Regions from separate parts of the Homo sapiens genome. Here region 2 is linked to region 1. The links are contacts of gene promoters, found by promoter capture Hi-C in blood cells and fetal thymus (Javierre and others, 2016). All regions are on one chromosome and are shown on one strand. Each heading gives the region's core, a stretch centred on a gene start or on the middle of the fragment in contact. The rest is flanking DNA. Distances are from core to core; before and after follow the strand shown. Region 1 holds the start of PSME1 (proteasome activator subunit 1). Region 2 overlaps LTB4R (leukotriene B4 receptor).

The links. Contacts are between HindIII fragments. The CHiCAGO score rates a contact against its expected background, and 5 or more counts as called.
Region 2: a contact is called between a fragment that was not itself captured here and the fragment with the promoter of PSME1 in region 1, in 1 of 17 cell types (total CD8 T cells). The highest score is 5.1, in total CD8 T cells.

What each region holds. Positions count from the first base shown.
Region 1 is chr14:24,132,299-24,140,217 of GRCh38, reverse strand. PSME1 (proteasome activator subunit 1) reads right to left here and starts at 4,024. Exons shown (of 11, transcript NM_006263.4): 1 at 3,917-4,024; 2 at 3,201-3,233; 3 at 3,013-3,075; 4 at 2,787-2,897; 5 at 2,653-2,698; 6 at 2,421-2,518; 7 at 2,101-2,169; 8 at 1,955-2,022; 9 at 1,819-1,873; 10 at 1,658-1,744; 11 at 1,256-1,482. The coding sequence starts at 3,955. The coding sequence ends at 1,402. FITM1 (fat storage inducing transmembrane protein 1) reads right to left here. Exons shown (of 2, transcript NM_203402.3): 2 at 7,371-7,919. The coding sequence ends at 7,395. EMC9 (ER membrane protein complex subunit 9) reads left to right here. Exons shown (of 6, transcript NM_016049.4): 4 at 604-673; 5 at 764-858; 6 at 1,022-1,253. The coding sequence ends at 1,208. RefSeq lists silencers at 3,691-3,980, 4,031-4,450. The HindIII fragment of the contact is 8,418 bases long and covers 1-4,424 here.
Region 2 is chr14:24,315,357-24,323,275 of GRCh38, reverse strand. LTB4R (leukotriene B4 receptor) reads right to left here. Exons shown (of 2, transcript NM_001143919.3): 2 at 5,240-7,639. The coding sequence starts at 7,624. The coding sequence ends at 6,566. ADCY4 (adenylate cyclase 4) reads left to right here. Exons shown (of 25, transcript NM_001198568.2): 18 at 188-372; 19 at 568-652; 20 at 1,052-1,210; 21 at 3,388-3,534; 22 at 3,840-3,947; 23 at 4,064-4,178; 24 at 4,498-4,622; 25 at 4,708-4,917. The coding sequence ends at 4,860. Among named protein-coding and RNA genes, the nearest start is that of LTB4R, 7.8 kb to the right of the region's middle. RefSeq lists enhancers at 705-1,664, 6,696-7,196. The HindIII fragment of the contact is 5,052 bases long and covers 3,213-7,919 here.

The DNA.
Region 1 (7,919 bases), core at 2,775-5,274:
ACTTCAAAAATAAGGCAGTTTCCTTATATATATACATATAGGAAAAGACATATATATATATATATATATATTAATCATATACATGGAGCAATTAGAGGTACTGTTTTGTAATTTGCGTTTCTCCCTCACTTAATAAATACTTGACATCATCCCATTTCCACACCAAGATCTACCGTAACAGCTATATAGTCTGAATATGAATGTACTCTAATTTATTTAATACTTTAAACATTGAGGTTGTTTCCAGTGTTTTATTACAGACACTGTCCTATGATTACCATAAATTCTTTATAAGTAGAATTTCTGGGTCAGCATATGTATAGTATGTATACAGTTTCAATTTGGATGGTTATGCCAAATTACCTTCCAAAAAGACCACCTTTGGTTTCCACTCTCACCAGCAATATCTGAGCACCTGTCTCCCACAGCACTCAAGCATCAAGCAGTCGTGCATCAAGCATCCAGCAGGCCCGATCCCCGCAGGCCACCTACAGGGAAAGGCCACAGCTGCGCCCACACCTATGAGACCTGGGAGGCCCAGCTCAAATGGATGGGTTTTGCCCACAGTTGGCTCCTCACTCCTCTGATCTTCCCTCTACACAGCCCTGGGCCCCTGGCCTTGAAAATTGCTGGGCGAATTGCAGAATTCTTCCCTGATGCAGTACTTATTATGGTGAGGCTTGGGTTTCTGGGTGGGGAGGTGAAAAGCAAGTAGGGTGGGGGGACCCTTGAAACTCTCACTTGCCCATCTTTGTCCACTCAGTTGGATAATCAGAAACTGGTGCCTCAGCCTCGTGTGCCCCCGGTCATCGTCCTGGAGAACCAAGGTCTCCGCTGGGTCCCTAAGGATAAGAACTTGTGAGTACCCCACTCCCTCTACCTCTTCTTAGAAGCCCAAGGCTCCTGGGTCTCCTCTGTCCTTGGCCCTGCCCCAAGGGTCTTTCTCTAGACCCAATCTCTGTTAAGTCTGTGTCTGGACCCACTACTTGCTGTTTGACCTCCATGGGGGTTACTATTTCAGAGTGATGTGGAGGGACTGGGAAGAGTCACGGCAGATGGTGGGAGCTCTACTGGAAGATCGGGCCCACCAGCACCTTGTGGACTTTGACTGCCACCTTGATGACATCCGGCAGGACTGGACCAACCAGCGGCTCAACACTCAAATCACCCAGTGGGTTGGTCCCACTAATGGAAATGGAAATGCCTGAGCCAGGGCCAGCGGGGCCCGGTTCCAATAAAGAGACTTGGGCTGATGGGCAGTGGTATAACTATATTTATTGTGCCTGAGAGGCAAGGTGAGGGAAAAATCTCAACAGAAGCAAGTTTGGGGAAAATCTGGAGTCCCCAGTAAAAAGCAGGAAGGTCTCTGCTGTACTCATCACAGAATGGGAGAGAGGGCTCTCAATAGATCATTCCCTTTGTTTCTCCCCTGGGCTTCTTGAGCTTCTCGAAGTTCTTCAGGATGATGTCATATAACACAGCCTACAGGGCCAGGGAGTAGAGGTCAGTCAGAGGCCTCCAGTGGCTCTGTGCCCCATTTCTAGCCTTGTGGAGAAGCTGAGCTTTGTCACCCTTAACCCCTAGCCTGCAGGGTCAGGGAGTGGGTGGCCTGGGAAAGCTGCCTCTGCCCACCCCTGCCCTGCCCTTGCCTCCTCACATAAGCATTGCGGATCTCCATGACCATCAGCCGGATGTCCCGGTACTCTGCCTCATCCAGCTCGTGCACCAGCTGCCGATAATCACCCTGTGGGAAGCTCGGGTCAGGCCTGACCTTACATGTGTCCTTCCCCCATGCACCCTGACCTGGGCCTCACCTACCACATGGGGCTGCTTGGCTGCTTTAGTCACTGCATCACCACGCTCAGAGAAATACCTGTGGAAGGAGAAGTGTGTATGGAGTAGAAGAAGGAGGTCTCCCAAAACAAAAACAGTGTGCACATGGGTGGTCACTCACTTAGAGATTTGAGTGTGGAAGCCTTCTAGCTTGGTGTGGAGGCTGGTCATCAGCTCAAACACCTTCTCCTAGGGAAAAAAAGCAAGGGGGAAAGTGGAAGGAAGCATGGACTAGAAAAGAGCAGGGAAGTGGGGCAGCGCTCTCACCTGGACAGCCACTCCAAAATTGTTACCATCCTCAATCCGAGGTATCTGCAGCTGCAACCAGGTGGTGACCTGGGAAGAGGGAATGGCATAATGCCACATCAGCCCTCTACCCAATTCCCAGTTTCATATTCTCCCTTGCTTCCCTCCCCACACTGGGTGGAGGCGTGCCGGGTCTATCCTGAGCCCCAGGGCCTGGACTTCTGGTTTCACTTGCTGTGCCCTCTCTTGCTAAAACCTGGCAAGTGCCAGGCCCTAAATGGCAGGGACCAAGAGGACAATGGTTTGACTTGAAGCCTGAGAGTTTAAGGGGGAGGGCTTACCAGGTTGAGCTGCTCAATGACATCCTTGATCTCAGGCTTCAAGCGCTGCAGAAGGACCACGATCTTTTCATTGCAGTTCACTGGGCCACAGGGAGGACCTAGAGAGTGAGCAATGGGTCAGTCACATGATTGAGCCTGTGTGAGGGGCGAAGGGGAGACTGGAAAGAAATCCTTAGGAGGAGCTCCTGTGAGTGGGACTCAAGTCTCTTCCCACCATTGTGGTTTCAAGTACCTTTGTCTTCATCCTCCCCCTTCTTCTTTTCATCCTTGTCTTCCTTCTGCAGAAAGAGAGGAGCTCATGAGAGTCAGGACTAAGGTTGATTACCCCCATAGTTGGATCCCTTCTCCCAGGTCTTCCCAGCTTGCCTCCTGCTGTTTCTTCCGCTCCTCTTTCTCTTTCTCCTTGACTGGATCAGGCACTGGGATGTCCAATGGGGCCTTCAGATTGCTCAAGTTGGCTTCATTGAGAGCTGGCTCCTGGTGTAGGGTGGGAGGAGGGCTGGAGGTGAGGGAGTTCCTCTCACCTCACTCTCACAGCCTCCAGACTCTTCTCTTGGCCTTTACTCCCTAGCTCCCTGCCCAGCCGCGGTACCTTTAAAAATGCATCCAGCTCAGAAATCTTCTTGGGGAAATAGCTCCCGAGCAGGTTCTCTGTCTGTGTGTGAGGTGGGGGTGGAGGAGGATGGGAGTCAGCATCAAATGCCCGTCCTAGGTAGTGAGGCAGGGTTGAGCAGTAGGAGTTGGGCAGGGGTGGGGCCACGCTGATGGGGCATGTCTTACCTTGGTACAGAGGTCTTCACGAAACACATCCACCTGTGGGGCACACGCATCCCTTCAGAAACTTGGCTTTAAGGCCAGTTCATTTGAGGACAGTTCCCTTAGGGTTATGTAGGGCCTGACCTGGGGAAGGGTGGAGGGGATCCCTCTAAGGCCAGACCTGAAGAAAGCGAGATGGATGCCTGTAGGGTGGGTTGGGGTGGTGGAGAAGGTGGATCTCTGCAGACCTGGATCTACGGAAAGTGGAGTGGGTATCCCTGGGGCTGGATATGGGGGATGAGAACATTCCTGGCGGTGAAGGGCCAGTGTTCACGTGAGAACAGATCTCTGGGGTCGCCTGGCAGGTGTGAGGAGGGGTGCTGAGAGTCCTCTGCAAGTAGGACAGGGATGGGGTGGGCCCCGGGACCCTCCCTGAGGGAAAGGCCAGAAGGTAGCTGGGGCAGTCCCGCACCCAGTCTGTGTGTGGCCCCGGCCCCAGGCCAGCGGAGTTCCCCTCCACGCCAGCTCTCCGCTTCACCTCACCCCGCAGAACCACGGCCGCCTCGCCTCTCCCCGCAGGCAGCAGTCGCCGCCCTCCCCGGGGCGCAGGTGCTCCGGGCGCGCCAGCTCGGCCGACTGCCCCCGACTCGCGTGGGAGCCTGGGGGGCGGGTCGGGGATGCCCCCGGCCGCTCCAGCCACGCCTCCCCAGTGGGCCCTTTCTAGACCCCGCGGCGCTCACCTTGGCTTGGGCCTCGGGCTGGACCCTGAGCATGGCCATGACCGGGACGGGGGGCCTAGCGCCGCACAAGGAGTGGAGTGGGCACCGCGAAGGGAAAGCGAAAGCGGTAGGGCGCTCGCACCCAGCTCCGCCTTCCTGGGTAGTGGGGCGGGGAGGGCTGGAGGAGGCGGGGTCGGATGGAGGAGGCGGGGTCAGCCCTGCCATGGAAGGGGCGGTGCCGCAGAGGAGGGCGGCGGGTGAGGCTCCGCCTAGCGCGCACAGGCGCTCTTCACCCACCCTCCCCGCGCCGCCTCGCGAGGGCCAGCTTCCAGGCTCCCCACCTCCGCTGGCCCGGTCCCCGCCTCCCGCCTCCCGCCACCTGCCGCCCGCCGCCTGAGGACGGCGGGTCCGGGTCCTCCCATCGCCAAGCCCAAGCCAGTCTCTCCGCGTCCCAACCTCCACCTCCCGCCTCCCAACTGGCTCCCCACCTGCTCTCTTCTTCCCCTGCTCCGCCTGGGACAGATAAGCTTTACTTAGGGCTCTTCCGTCTTTCCCTAGAGATGGAATAAGACCTGGCCTGTCTTTCCTAGCCTTGCTAGCGTGGGCCTCTGGCTCTGCCGACATCCTGCGCACCTGTAGCAACACCGGCACCAGAGCTGGCAGCATCCCTATCCAAGCCCGGACCAACTCTCTCCTGGACCACGGCTGCAGATGCCATTCTATAACCCACTCTCACGGAGCAGCGGGTTCATGCCTCTCTCTGGCTTAAAACCCTTTCTCAGCTGCCTGTTGACCTTTGAATGAAATCCAAAAGGCTGTCGCACCTGTCTCCCCTTTAAGTCCACTTTCTACTGCTTGCCCCTTCATTCATTACACTTGCAAATATTTGGGCTATTTGTTTCTCAGATGTGTCATGTTCATTTCTGCCTCAGGGCCTTTGCCCTTGCTAATAATCCCTTTGCCTAAAACACCCTTACCCTGGGTGTTGTCATTCGGTTCTCAGTTTAGATGTCACCTCTTCAGAGAGAACTATTTTCATCATCCTTTATAAGGAACCTCCCTCCAAATCTATTACAAATCATCCTGTTTTAGTACATTCATAGCATTTATCTCTCTGATATTAGCCAGGTGTTTTTTTTTTTTTTTCCAGGATAATTTACTGATTTAAACCAGGTTTTGGCAAACGTGTGTGTGTGTGTGTGTGTGTGTGTGTGTGTTGGGGGACGGAGTCTCGCTCTGTCGCCCAGGGTGGAGTGCAGTGGCACCATCTAGGCTCACTGCAACCTCCACCTCCAGGGTTCAAGCGATTCTCCTGCTTCAGCCTACGGAGTAGCTAGGACTACAGGCGCGTCCCACCACGCCCGGCTAATTTTTTGTATTTTTAGTAGAGACGGGGTTTCACCATGTTAGCCAGGATGGACTCGATCTCCTGACCTCGTGATCCGCCCGCCTCGGCCTCCCAAAGTGCTGGGATTGCAGGCATGAGCCACCGCGTCTGGCCAACTTTTTCTATAAAGGGCCAGAGAGTAAATATTTTAGGCTTTATAGGCCTTACAGTGTCTGTCTACTCAACTCTGCCATTGTAGTAGGAAAGCTGCCATATGTAAATGAATTAGTTTGGTGAGATAACATTTTATAGACACTGGAATTTGAATTTCATGTAACTTTCTCCTGTAATAAAATATTCTTATTCTTTTGCTTTTTCAACCATTAAAAAATGTAAAAATGGCCGGGCACAGTGACTCACGCCTCTAATCCCAGCACTTTGGGAGGCCAAGGCAGGCAGATCACTTGAGGTCAGAAGTTCGAGACCAGCCTGGCCAACATGGTGAAACCCTGTGCCTACTAAAAATACAAACACTAGACGGGTGTGGTGGTGGGGGCCTGTAATCCCAGCTACTCGGGAGGCTGAGACAGGAGATCGCTTGAACCTGAGAGGTGGAGGTTGCAGTGAGCCAGAATTGCACTCCAGCCTGGGCAACAGAGTGAGACTCTGTCTCCAAAAAAATAATAAAAATAAAATAAAAATAAAAATGTAAAAAATGTTTTACCTTTTAAAAAAAATTTTTATACAGACAGGGTCTCACCATCTTGCCCAGGCTGGTCTCAAACTCCTGGGCTCAAGTGATCCTCTTGCCTCAGCCTCCCAAAGTGCTGGGATTACACTGCCATCACTGCCAGGTCTCTGTCTTTAAAAAAAAATTATATATATATTATATATGCAAATATTATATATAAAATATATAATAATATATATAATATATAAATATATATATTATACATATATAATTATTAGCTCGCAGGTCATACAAAACTGGCCACAGGAGGGCCAAAGTTTGCTAATTCCTGGTTTAGAGGATAGATGATATACCCATATTATCTAGCTTTGTAATCATGGCTCCTCTGTTTATTAGTTGTGAACAAGTTACTTAACCTCTGTGTCTCAGTGTTTGCAACTGTACAATGGGAACACTACTATCTCAATTTTTTTTTTTTTTTGCCAATCAAGATCAGTACAACCTACCTCATACTTTTATTGTTGTGAGGACCAAATGTGTTAACTTTTTTTTTTTTGAGATGGAATTTCACTCTTGTTGCCCAGGATGGAGTGCAGTGGTGCAACCTCAGCTCGTTGCAACCTCCGCCTCCCGGGTTCAAGGGATTCTCCTGACTCAGCCTCCCAAGTAGCTGGGATTACAGGCGCCCGCCACCACACCCAAGTAATTTTTTTTTTTTTTTTTTGTATTTTTAGTGGAGATGGAGTTTCACCATGTTGGCCAGGCTGGTTTTGAACTCCTGACCTCAAGTGATCTGCCCACCTCGGCCTCCCAAAGTGCTAGGATTATAGGCGTGAGCCACCGCGCCCGGCCATATGCGTTAACTTTTATAAAGAACTTACAGACACTTAGAACAGTGTCTGGCACAGAGTAAACGCAGTGCAAGTGTTTTGCTATTATTTGTGTGATCTATTATCTGCCTTCCCCAGTTAGCTCATATGCCTCCAAACAGCAGAAATCTTGTCTTATTTACATGGCATAGAACTATGCTCAGCTCAATAAACATTTGTTAAATAGATGAGCACATACAGACCCCCTACGGGGAAGACAGGGTAGGAAAAGTCCCTGCGAGGAGTGCCCAGATAGGTAGGCCCCTGAAGAGAGGGAGTGGAGATTCAGTGGAGAAGGCAGGAAAAACAATCAAACAGGCTGGAGATGGAGCAACTGCTCAGCAAGAATGATGCCCACACCTAAGGGCATTACCTTAGAAGCACCATTCCTGGATGTCTCAGTCCCCAGATAGCCTGAAGTCTGCAAAAACTAGGAGACTGAAAGGACAGCTGGAGGGATGGAGGTCAAGCATAAGGAAGGACATTCAAGGTTGATGAGAGCAAGGAATGGCTGGGGAACCCTAGTGACTACCAGACCCTCTTCCCACCCTTTCAAGGACCCAACCAAATGATGAGAGGAGCCACAGCCAGGCCCGATGGTTTTTATTTCTTTCAGTTATGCTTGCGGCTGGAGTGGGGACGGGGGAAGAGCCCATGGCCTGGGCTCCCTGGAGACCAGGGCTGATGATACCAGCTGCCATAGGTGAGGTACCAGGCAAAGGTGCCCACTGCGGCGCCCACCACCTTGTGAGTGTACTGGTGGAAATAGATGACGGTACAGAGCAGCAAGAAGTTCCAGAGGCCCAGCAGCAGCACGTTCAGCAGGAAGACAAGGCGCAGTGGGGCGCCGGCAGGAAGCCCATGGGCCAGGTACTTGGCGAACACAGCTGCTTCCTCTGCCATGAGCAGGCAGCAAAAGGTGAGCAGGAAGGTGTGGGAGGAGACGGTGTAGCCTCGCCACTGGTGGCCGGCTGCCAGGCAGCTGCGGCGGTCAGGCAGCTCGTGGAGCAGCAGACCCTGGGGCAGTGGCTCGAAGCAGGAGCCAGTCAGGTCCTCGATGAGCAGGAAGGCCCGGCCGGCTCCCCGCCACACGGCTGCCCCTACTACCAGTCGGCTCAGGTGTCTGGCAGTTACTGC
Region 2 (7,919 bases), core at 4,489-6,988, 180 kb before region 1:
GAGTGGAGGAACGCTCCATTCTGTGGATTAGAACAGACATAAGTCACACCCAGTGTGTATCAGTGTGTATGATGCCCCCTGTCTCCCAGATAGGACCTGGGCCTGGGAGGGACAGGAAGGGAGCCCTCAGGTGTCCCCCCTCTGCCTATGGGACATGCCCACTCCTGACCCCTGCCTGGCCCCACAGTACTCCATGCACTGCTGCACGCTGGGCTTCCTCTCCTGCTCCCTCTTTCTGCACATGAGCTTCGAGCTGAAGCTGCTGCTGCTCCTGCTGTGGCTGGCGGCATCCTGCTCCCTCTTCCTGCACTCCCATGCCTGGCTGTCGGAATGCCTCATCGTCCGCCTCTATCTGGGCCCCTTGGACTCCAGGTGTGCACAGCTGCTGGACAGAGGTGCCGGGCCCCCTGGGATGGGGTGAGATGGGATACAGCAGAGCTGTCCTGGCCTCACCGACCTGAATCACCCACAGGGCAAAGTGGGAGGGAAGCGGAGGCCTACATGGGGGCAGGGAGAAGGCCAGGAAGGGGGAAAGCAAGGGGTCACCCTGATCCATGGCCCCTTCAGGCCCGGAGTGCTGAAGGAGCCCAAACTGATGGGTGCTATCTCCTTCTTCATCTTCTTCTTCACCCTCCTTGTCCTGGCTCGCCAGGTAAGTCACCCAGCTCAGCCCCACCAGGGCCCACCTATGAGTGGCCCCCATATCTGTGACTTGATCTTTCTAATCTCCAGGGTTGAATGCCCATTGGAAGCTTCTAAGCGAGCCTTCCTGCTTCCTTTCTTCTCCTTCACTCCCTGCCCCTCCTTTCTCCCACACCCCTATCTGGGAAAGCCCATGCTTTAGAAAAAGTCTGCTGCCAATTCTCTATCCCTAGTCTGAATCTAATTTCAAGGATAGTCTCTCTCCAAGTATACTTACACCTTAAGCTCTACTTCTAAACTGGGGGTGGGGTGGGGGTGGTTTCAGGCATCATGGAGTTGGGGCTGAACACTCAGGAGCTGGGCTTCCCCTGCTCTGTGTCTCCCCATGGCCCCGGGTGACCCTCCCCAGAATGAGTACTACTGCCGCCTGGACTTCCTGTGGAAGAAGAAGCTGAGGCAGGAGAGGGAGGAGACAGAGACGATGGAGAACCTGACTCGGCTGCTCTTGGAGAACGTGCTCCCTGCACACGTGGCCCCCCAGTTCATTGGCCAGAACCGGCGCAACGAGGTGACTCCTGACCCCCTGACTCCTGAGCCACGGATGCCATAGGGCCTAATTTCAGATGAAAGCCTTGACCTATGGCCCGTTTTCTCTAGAACCCCCAGAAGGGTCACCCAAGCCCTTGTGCTTGTCAAGCGTCTTTGTTTTCACAACATCTTAGATTCTTTCTTTGGTGAGCACAAAACTGCATTTCAAATTCTTACTTGGAAGGCATGTCTTCTCTAACTCATGACCATTCCATACATTCCAGAAGCCTAGGCGTTGATGGGAGCTGTCTGGAGCAGGGGTCCCCAGCCCCCAGGCCGCAGACTGATACTAGTCCATGACCTGTTGGGAACTGGGCTACACAGCAGGAGGTGAGCGGTGAGCCAGCACTACCGCCTGAGCTCTGCCTCTTGTCAGATCAGTAGCAGCATCAGATTCTCATAGGAACTTGAACCTTATTGTGAACTGCACATGCAAGGGGTCTAGGTTGTACACTCCTTATGAAAATCTATTAGGCTGGTGCAAAATTAATCGCAGTTTTTGCCATTAAAAGTAATATAATTAAAAGTAATTACTTTTTTTTTTTTTTAAGACACAGTTTCACTCTCATCGCTCAGGCTGGAGTGCAACAGAGTTTCACTCTCGTCGCTCAGGCTGGAGTGCAACAGAGTTTCACTCTCGTCGCTCAGGCTGGAGTGCATGTAATGGCACGGTCTCAGCTCACTGAAACCTCCGCCTCCTGGGTTCAAGCAATTCTCCTGCCTCAGCCTCCCAGGTAGCTGGGATTACAGGCGCCTGCCACCATGCCTGGCTAATTTTTTTTATATTTTTTTTTTTTAGTAGAGACAGGGTTTCACCATGTTGGTCAGGCTGATCTCGATCTCCTGATCTCAGGTGATCCACCCACCTTGGCCTCCCAAAATGCTGAGATTACAGGCGCACCGCACCCGGCCTAAAAGTAATTACTTTTAATGGCAAAAAAAAAAAAAAAAAAGAAATGCAATTAATTTTGCACCAACCTAATAACTAATGCCTGATGATCTGAAGTAGAACAGTTTCATCCCAAAACCATCCCCCACCACAGCCTGGGTGCGTGGAAAACTTGTCTTCCATGAAACCCATCCTTGGGTCCAAAAAGGTTGGGGACTGCTGGTCTAGAGGATACAGTCCACCCCTCTCTCTAGACCTGCACTATCCAATATGGTAGCCATTAGCCATATGAAATTTTAATGTTAATTAATTAAAATAAAATATTCAGTTCCTCAGTTGCACCAGCCACATTTCCAGGGCTCAACAGCCACTCGTAGCTAGTGGCCACCCTATTGGACACTGCACATAGGGAATGTTTCCATTGCAAAAATTTCTATTGGATGCTGCTGCTCTAGATCCTCAAAAATCTTGCTAGCGCCAAACCATCAGAAATTCACCCACATATTTGTACCATCTTATTTGTATCATCTGCTGGCCCTCTGCTGTGGAAATGCTCTTGGCTCATATTGAGGGATGTTAAAAGAAACAGCTCAGGAGCTCTTTCACAGCCTTATGCCCCCACCGCCTGCTCCCTGCTCTCAAGATCAGTAGTTCTTTTCTGGTTTCTTCTCTTACAGACACAAGGAATCTTGTAATCGATCCTTTTCTCTCTTCACTTTGGCTGCTAGAAAGCTGAGAGCCAAAATCTAAGACTAAATAGGATTTCATGGCACTCATTTTGTGAACCACCCTCAGATCTGATTCCATCTTTATTATCTTACCCTTATTTTCCCTTTGCCTCATAGTCCCTATTGTTGCTTACTTCATCTTTCATTTTGTACCTATCTTAACTGACTTAAACACTTAAACACATTTTACCCTTGGTTTTGTAGCCGGCTTAATTGACTTAAACACCTTTCAGCAATAAGATAGGATATAGAAATAATTCACATTGACAGGATCCCAGTTCTAGGAGTGACTCCCTTCGTGTTGCTGTGAGGTGATCCTAACGCCAAACCTCTGTCTCTTCTAGAATTACAATGAGATCTAAGCTTTGACTCCTAAGTCACTTCCCTGGGGTAGCCTGGCCCTACTCCTCTCCCTCCTTCCCAATTCTTCTTAAACAGGGAGACCAGGAGTGTGGACATGGGGAGGAGGGCCCCACGCAGACCTCTAGAAGGGAGAGGAACATGACACACACCCCTCACTCCAGTCTCCTGTTCCCCCAGGATCTCTACCACCAGTCCTATGAATGCGTTTGTGTCCTCTTCGCCTCAGTCCCAGACTTCAAGGAGTTCTACTCTGAATCCAACATCAATCATGAGGGCCTAGAGTGTCTGAGGCTGCTCAATGAGATAATTGCTGATTTTGATGAGGTGAAAATTCCAAGAGTCTCCCAGACCCTATGTCCTAGATTCTAGAATTTTCCACCAGTACCTCCTTCCACTTTGCTTTTCTGGCCATGAAGTCAATCCTCCCCTCCACAGTACTCCCTCACCTCCTCTGATCCCCCAGATCTACCCACTCCAGCAACACTGCCCACCACCAACCCTCTCCTTCCTGACACTATCTCCACTCCCACAGCCTGATCCTTTAACTCCAAAGGCTTGGGGCTGGGCTTCTGGGAGAGGTGATGGAGAGAGTAAGAGAGACTGGGGACAGGACTCTTCTCTATATACAGCTGCTCTCCAAGCCCAAGTTCAGTGGGGTGGAGAAGATCAAGACCATCGGCAGCACCTACATGGCAGCCACAGGCTTAAATGCCACCTCTGGACAGGATGCACAACAGGTACGGCAACCCTTCCTTACCTACCATCCTCCTCTGGGCTCTCATTGATGGGCTTATTAGTGGGACTTATTCCTGTGCCCTCACTGGCCCACCCTGGTGGGCGGGCCCATTGCCAGGATGCTGAACGGAGCTGCAGCCACCTTGGCACTATGGTGGAATTTGCCGTGGCCCTGGGGTCTAAGCTGGACGTCATCAACAAGCATTCATTCAACAACTTCCGCCTGCGAGTGGGTGAGAGACTTCCCCTGCTGCAGCAGTCTGGTACCTCCTCACCTTCCTGAGCTTGCCCCACTCCAAGTCCTTTGTTAGCTGCTCCCAGTTCATCCTGAAGCCCCTTTCCTGACTCACTCCCTGGGATGGGGTGTGAAGGTGCTGGGCAAGGAGGTACGAGGCTCTCCCACTCTTTTTCTTAAGCTACATTCCTCCAGCCCTTAGAGACCCCTCCTCTCCTCTAGGGCCCCCCAGGCTCTTCTCCCTTCCTTCCAGTTCCTTGTGGCTTCCTCTTCCCCTCTTCCTTCTCCAAGTCTGTCATTACCACATCCCTCATTAGGGTTGAACCATGGACCCGTAGTAGCTGGAGTTATTGGGGCCCAGAAGCCGCAATATGACATTTGGGGCAACACAGTGAACGTGGCCAGCCGCATGGAGAGTACAGGAGTCCTTGGCAAAATCCAAGTGAGGGAACCACATTGGAGGCATAGGGGGAGGGGGACTAAGAATAGGGCCACCTCCATATTCCCTCGCCCCCCTCCAATTGTAGGTGACTGAGGAGACAGCATGGGCCCTACAGTCCCTGGGCTACACCTGCTACAGCCGGGGTGTCATCAAGGTGAAAGGCAAAGGGCAGCTCTGCACCTACTTCCTGAACACAGACTTGACACGAACTGGACCTCCTTCAGCTACCCTAGGCTGAGATTGCACTCGCCTTCTAAGAACCTCAATAAAGAGACTCTGGGGTGTCTGGAGCCCATTGATGTCTGAAGCTGCTGATATAGCTGGGGATCACCTTCTCATTGCCCTTCAGTGGGAATTCTTCTTCTTCCCAGGCCAATTTTAGTGCGAGTGTGTGTGTGAATGTGTGTGCACATGCCTGCACACATGCATGCATGTGAGACTAAGCATTTTGAAAGGGAGTGATTTTTTTCACAAGCTCAGGAAGAGAACTCCCTCAGCCTCTCTGCCAACTTGATTATAGTATTTTGTACACCTTGGAAGCATAAAGAATTTAGCCACATGACTCAAAACAAAAATTTGCCCTTTCCTGCCCCCTACTCAAAAATACCGGAAGAATCTCCAGGGAAATGTCATTTGAACTTTATTAATTCGACAAACACTAAATAAGTACCTATTATGTGCTCACCATACAGAATGGGCGAGAGGACTGGGAAATACTCCGTTAGGTCCCTCCCAGTTTCAGCTGCTGTTCTCAAATTGGTGCACCATACCTTCCAGTAAGGATCTGTAGACAGCTTGGGGATCTCCTCTTCTTAGGTCCATCCAACATCCCTTTGCTTCCTTCTGCATCCTTCTGCACAGATGCTGGTATATGGGTCTTGAGATATTGATGACTCATTCTCACTGGCTCATACTTTGGGGTCCATGGGAGTATGTCAAACCTTGACATACTAGATTTGTTGCGGATGTTGCATGTGGATATTTGGTTTCCCTCTCTTACTTGCTCTTTTGTTTTTTTATGAGAAAGATCCAAAAAGTACACTGCTGCCACTGTTGTTGCCATCTTCCTAAAACCTTGTCAGAACAGAGTTGGACCAAGGTTCTCTAAAACAACAGTCATCTCTAGGAAATAATGACTCATCCCTCTCACTTTTGGGAATCTTTGTTTCCTGGGGCCCTCAGCCCCACCCTGTGCCAGGGTGTGTTGTGGAGGTTAGCAGATGCTGATATGCAAAATTCTAAGGGATAAGATCTAATGACTTAGTCCTCAAGTCTGGCCTCTTTGTGAAATGGAGGGAAGGAAGGCATCCCCTAGAACATCTCCTATGGAGAGGACAAAGATTATTGGCAGGAAGTTGGAGTCATTCTAACAAGGAGACTTATCACAGGCTTCAAGGAAGATATTTCACAGCAGTGCTGTTTTCTCAGAAGGTCCCGGGTCACAGAACCTGGAGTGATAAGCCCACATGGGTGGTCTTCCTAGACAAGCTGCTTTAGGAGTCTGTAGACTGCGTTTTGCTAAGTATTATCTGCAGACTATGTACTCGGAATCATCTGGGATGGGGGAAGTCTATGTTTCTTTGTGTCCCTTCCAAAATTGTAAATCATGGGGAACTAAAGGACGTGACTCTCAACTACCGAGAGGGGCCCCACCAGGGCGCCCACGAGCACCCCGATACCCACAGCACATGTACCCCACTCACAAGGTTGACCAAATTTCAGACTTCAGTTTTAATGGTTAAAGCTGCCTGTGGGAGCCAGGCTGGAGCACGCTCTCACTCGGCCCTCACTTTGCTCCACCTCTCCCTCTTCTTCCACTCCACTCCCGCCTCCCACGCTCCCACGCCCTCCACGCCCTCCACGCCCCTGCTCCTCCTCCAGGTACTGAACTGGCTCAGAGCTAGCATTCTGCCAGGAGGAAAGTGCGCCTCCTTCCACCAGGCCTAGTTCAGTTCGTTTAACTTGAGAGGGCTGGAGGCAGTGAGGCTCTCGGAAGGGCCGGGCTCCAGAGCGGCGGGGCCGCTCCTAGCGGTCTGGCCCAGGCTGCCCCCGCGGCGCGTGCTGGACGCCTCGGAGCCCGTGCCCTCCAGCAGCTTGGCGACGAAGCCCACGCCCGCCGAGCGCAGCAGGCCGCCGCCGGCGCACGCGTACAGCACGGGGTTCACGCTGCTGCTCAGGAAGGCGAGTGCGATGAGCACGTTGCGGGCCAGGCTCAGCCGCTTCCCCACGAGCCCTAACCCGGCGGCCTGGCCGGCCAGCGCGCGGCCCGCCTCAGCCAGGTTCACCACGTGGTAGGGCAGCCAGAAGGCGGCGAAGGTCAGGATGATGAGCACCACCAGGCGGCCGGTGCGGCGGCTGCGGCGGAAGCGCCGGGCCTGTAGCCGACGCCCTATGTCCGAGTAGCTGGCCACCACAGCCAGGAAGGGCAGCAGGAAGCCCGTGACAGCCTCGAAGATTAGATGGAAGGCCCGGTGCCCTTCGCTGGGGTACCGCGGGAAGCACAGGCTCATGTTCGTTTTCCAGGGCACTACTGTGCGGTACGCGAGGACGGGTGTGGCCAGCAGAAAGGACAACACCCAGATGCCTGCCAGCACCCGCCGGGCCATCGCCTTGGTGCGTAGCTTCTGGGACACAAAGGGGCGGGCCACCGCCAGTGAGCGGTCTAGACTCATGGCCGTGATAAGCAGGACGCTGGCGTACATGCTGACTCCGCAGACATAGTGACACAGGCGGCAACCAGCCAGTCCAAAACTCCAGGTGCCTTGGGCCAGGAAGTGAAGGAAAAAGGGAGCAGTGAGCAATACGGCCAGGTCGGCCAGGGCCAGGTTCAGCACCATCAGGGCAGTGACAGAGCGCTTCTGCATCCTTTTCAGGATACTCCACACCACAAAGCTGTTGCCGGGAAGCCCCACAGCCAGCGCCACTGACAGCAGGATGATAGCCAGCAGAGAGATGAACTCTACACCTAGTGAGGGGGGTGCTGCAGAAGATGTAGTGTTCATGGCCGTCGGGAGGACCTGGAGAGTGAGGGCGGACACACGCATGAGAGTAGAGGACCAAGGGTTTCCTGACGCCATGGACACACCTAGGCTGAGAACTCTAGTCTATCTCCAGGGTCAGCAGCATCAGAGGTCCCCCTGAAATATACTGCCCCCATCGCTGCAGACTGACAACTTAAAGGGATCTGGTTGAGTACAAAGACTAGTTTCCTAACTGGGTCATGCGGCCCCTTCCTGTCCACAGACCCAATTGCAAAATATACAGTGACCACAGCAGCAGCAGCATTTCCAGACCTTT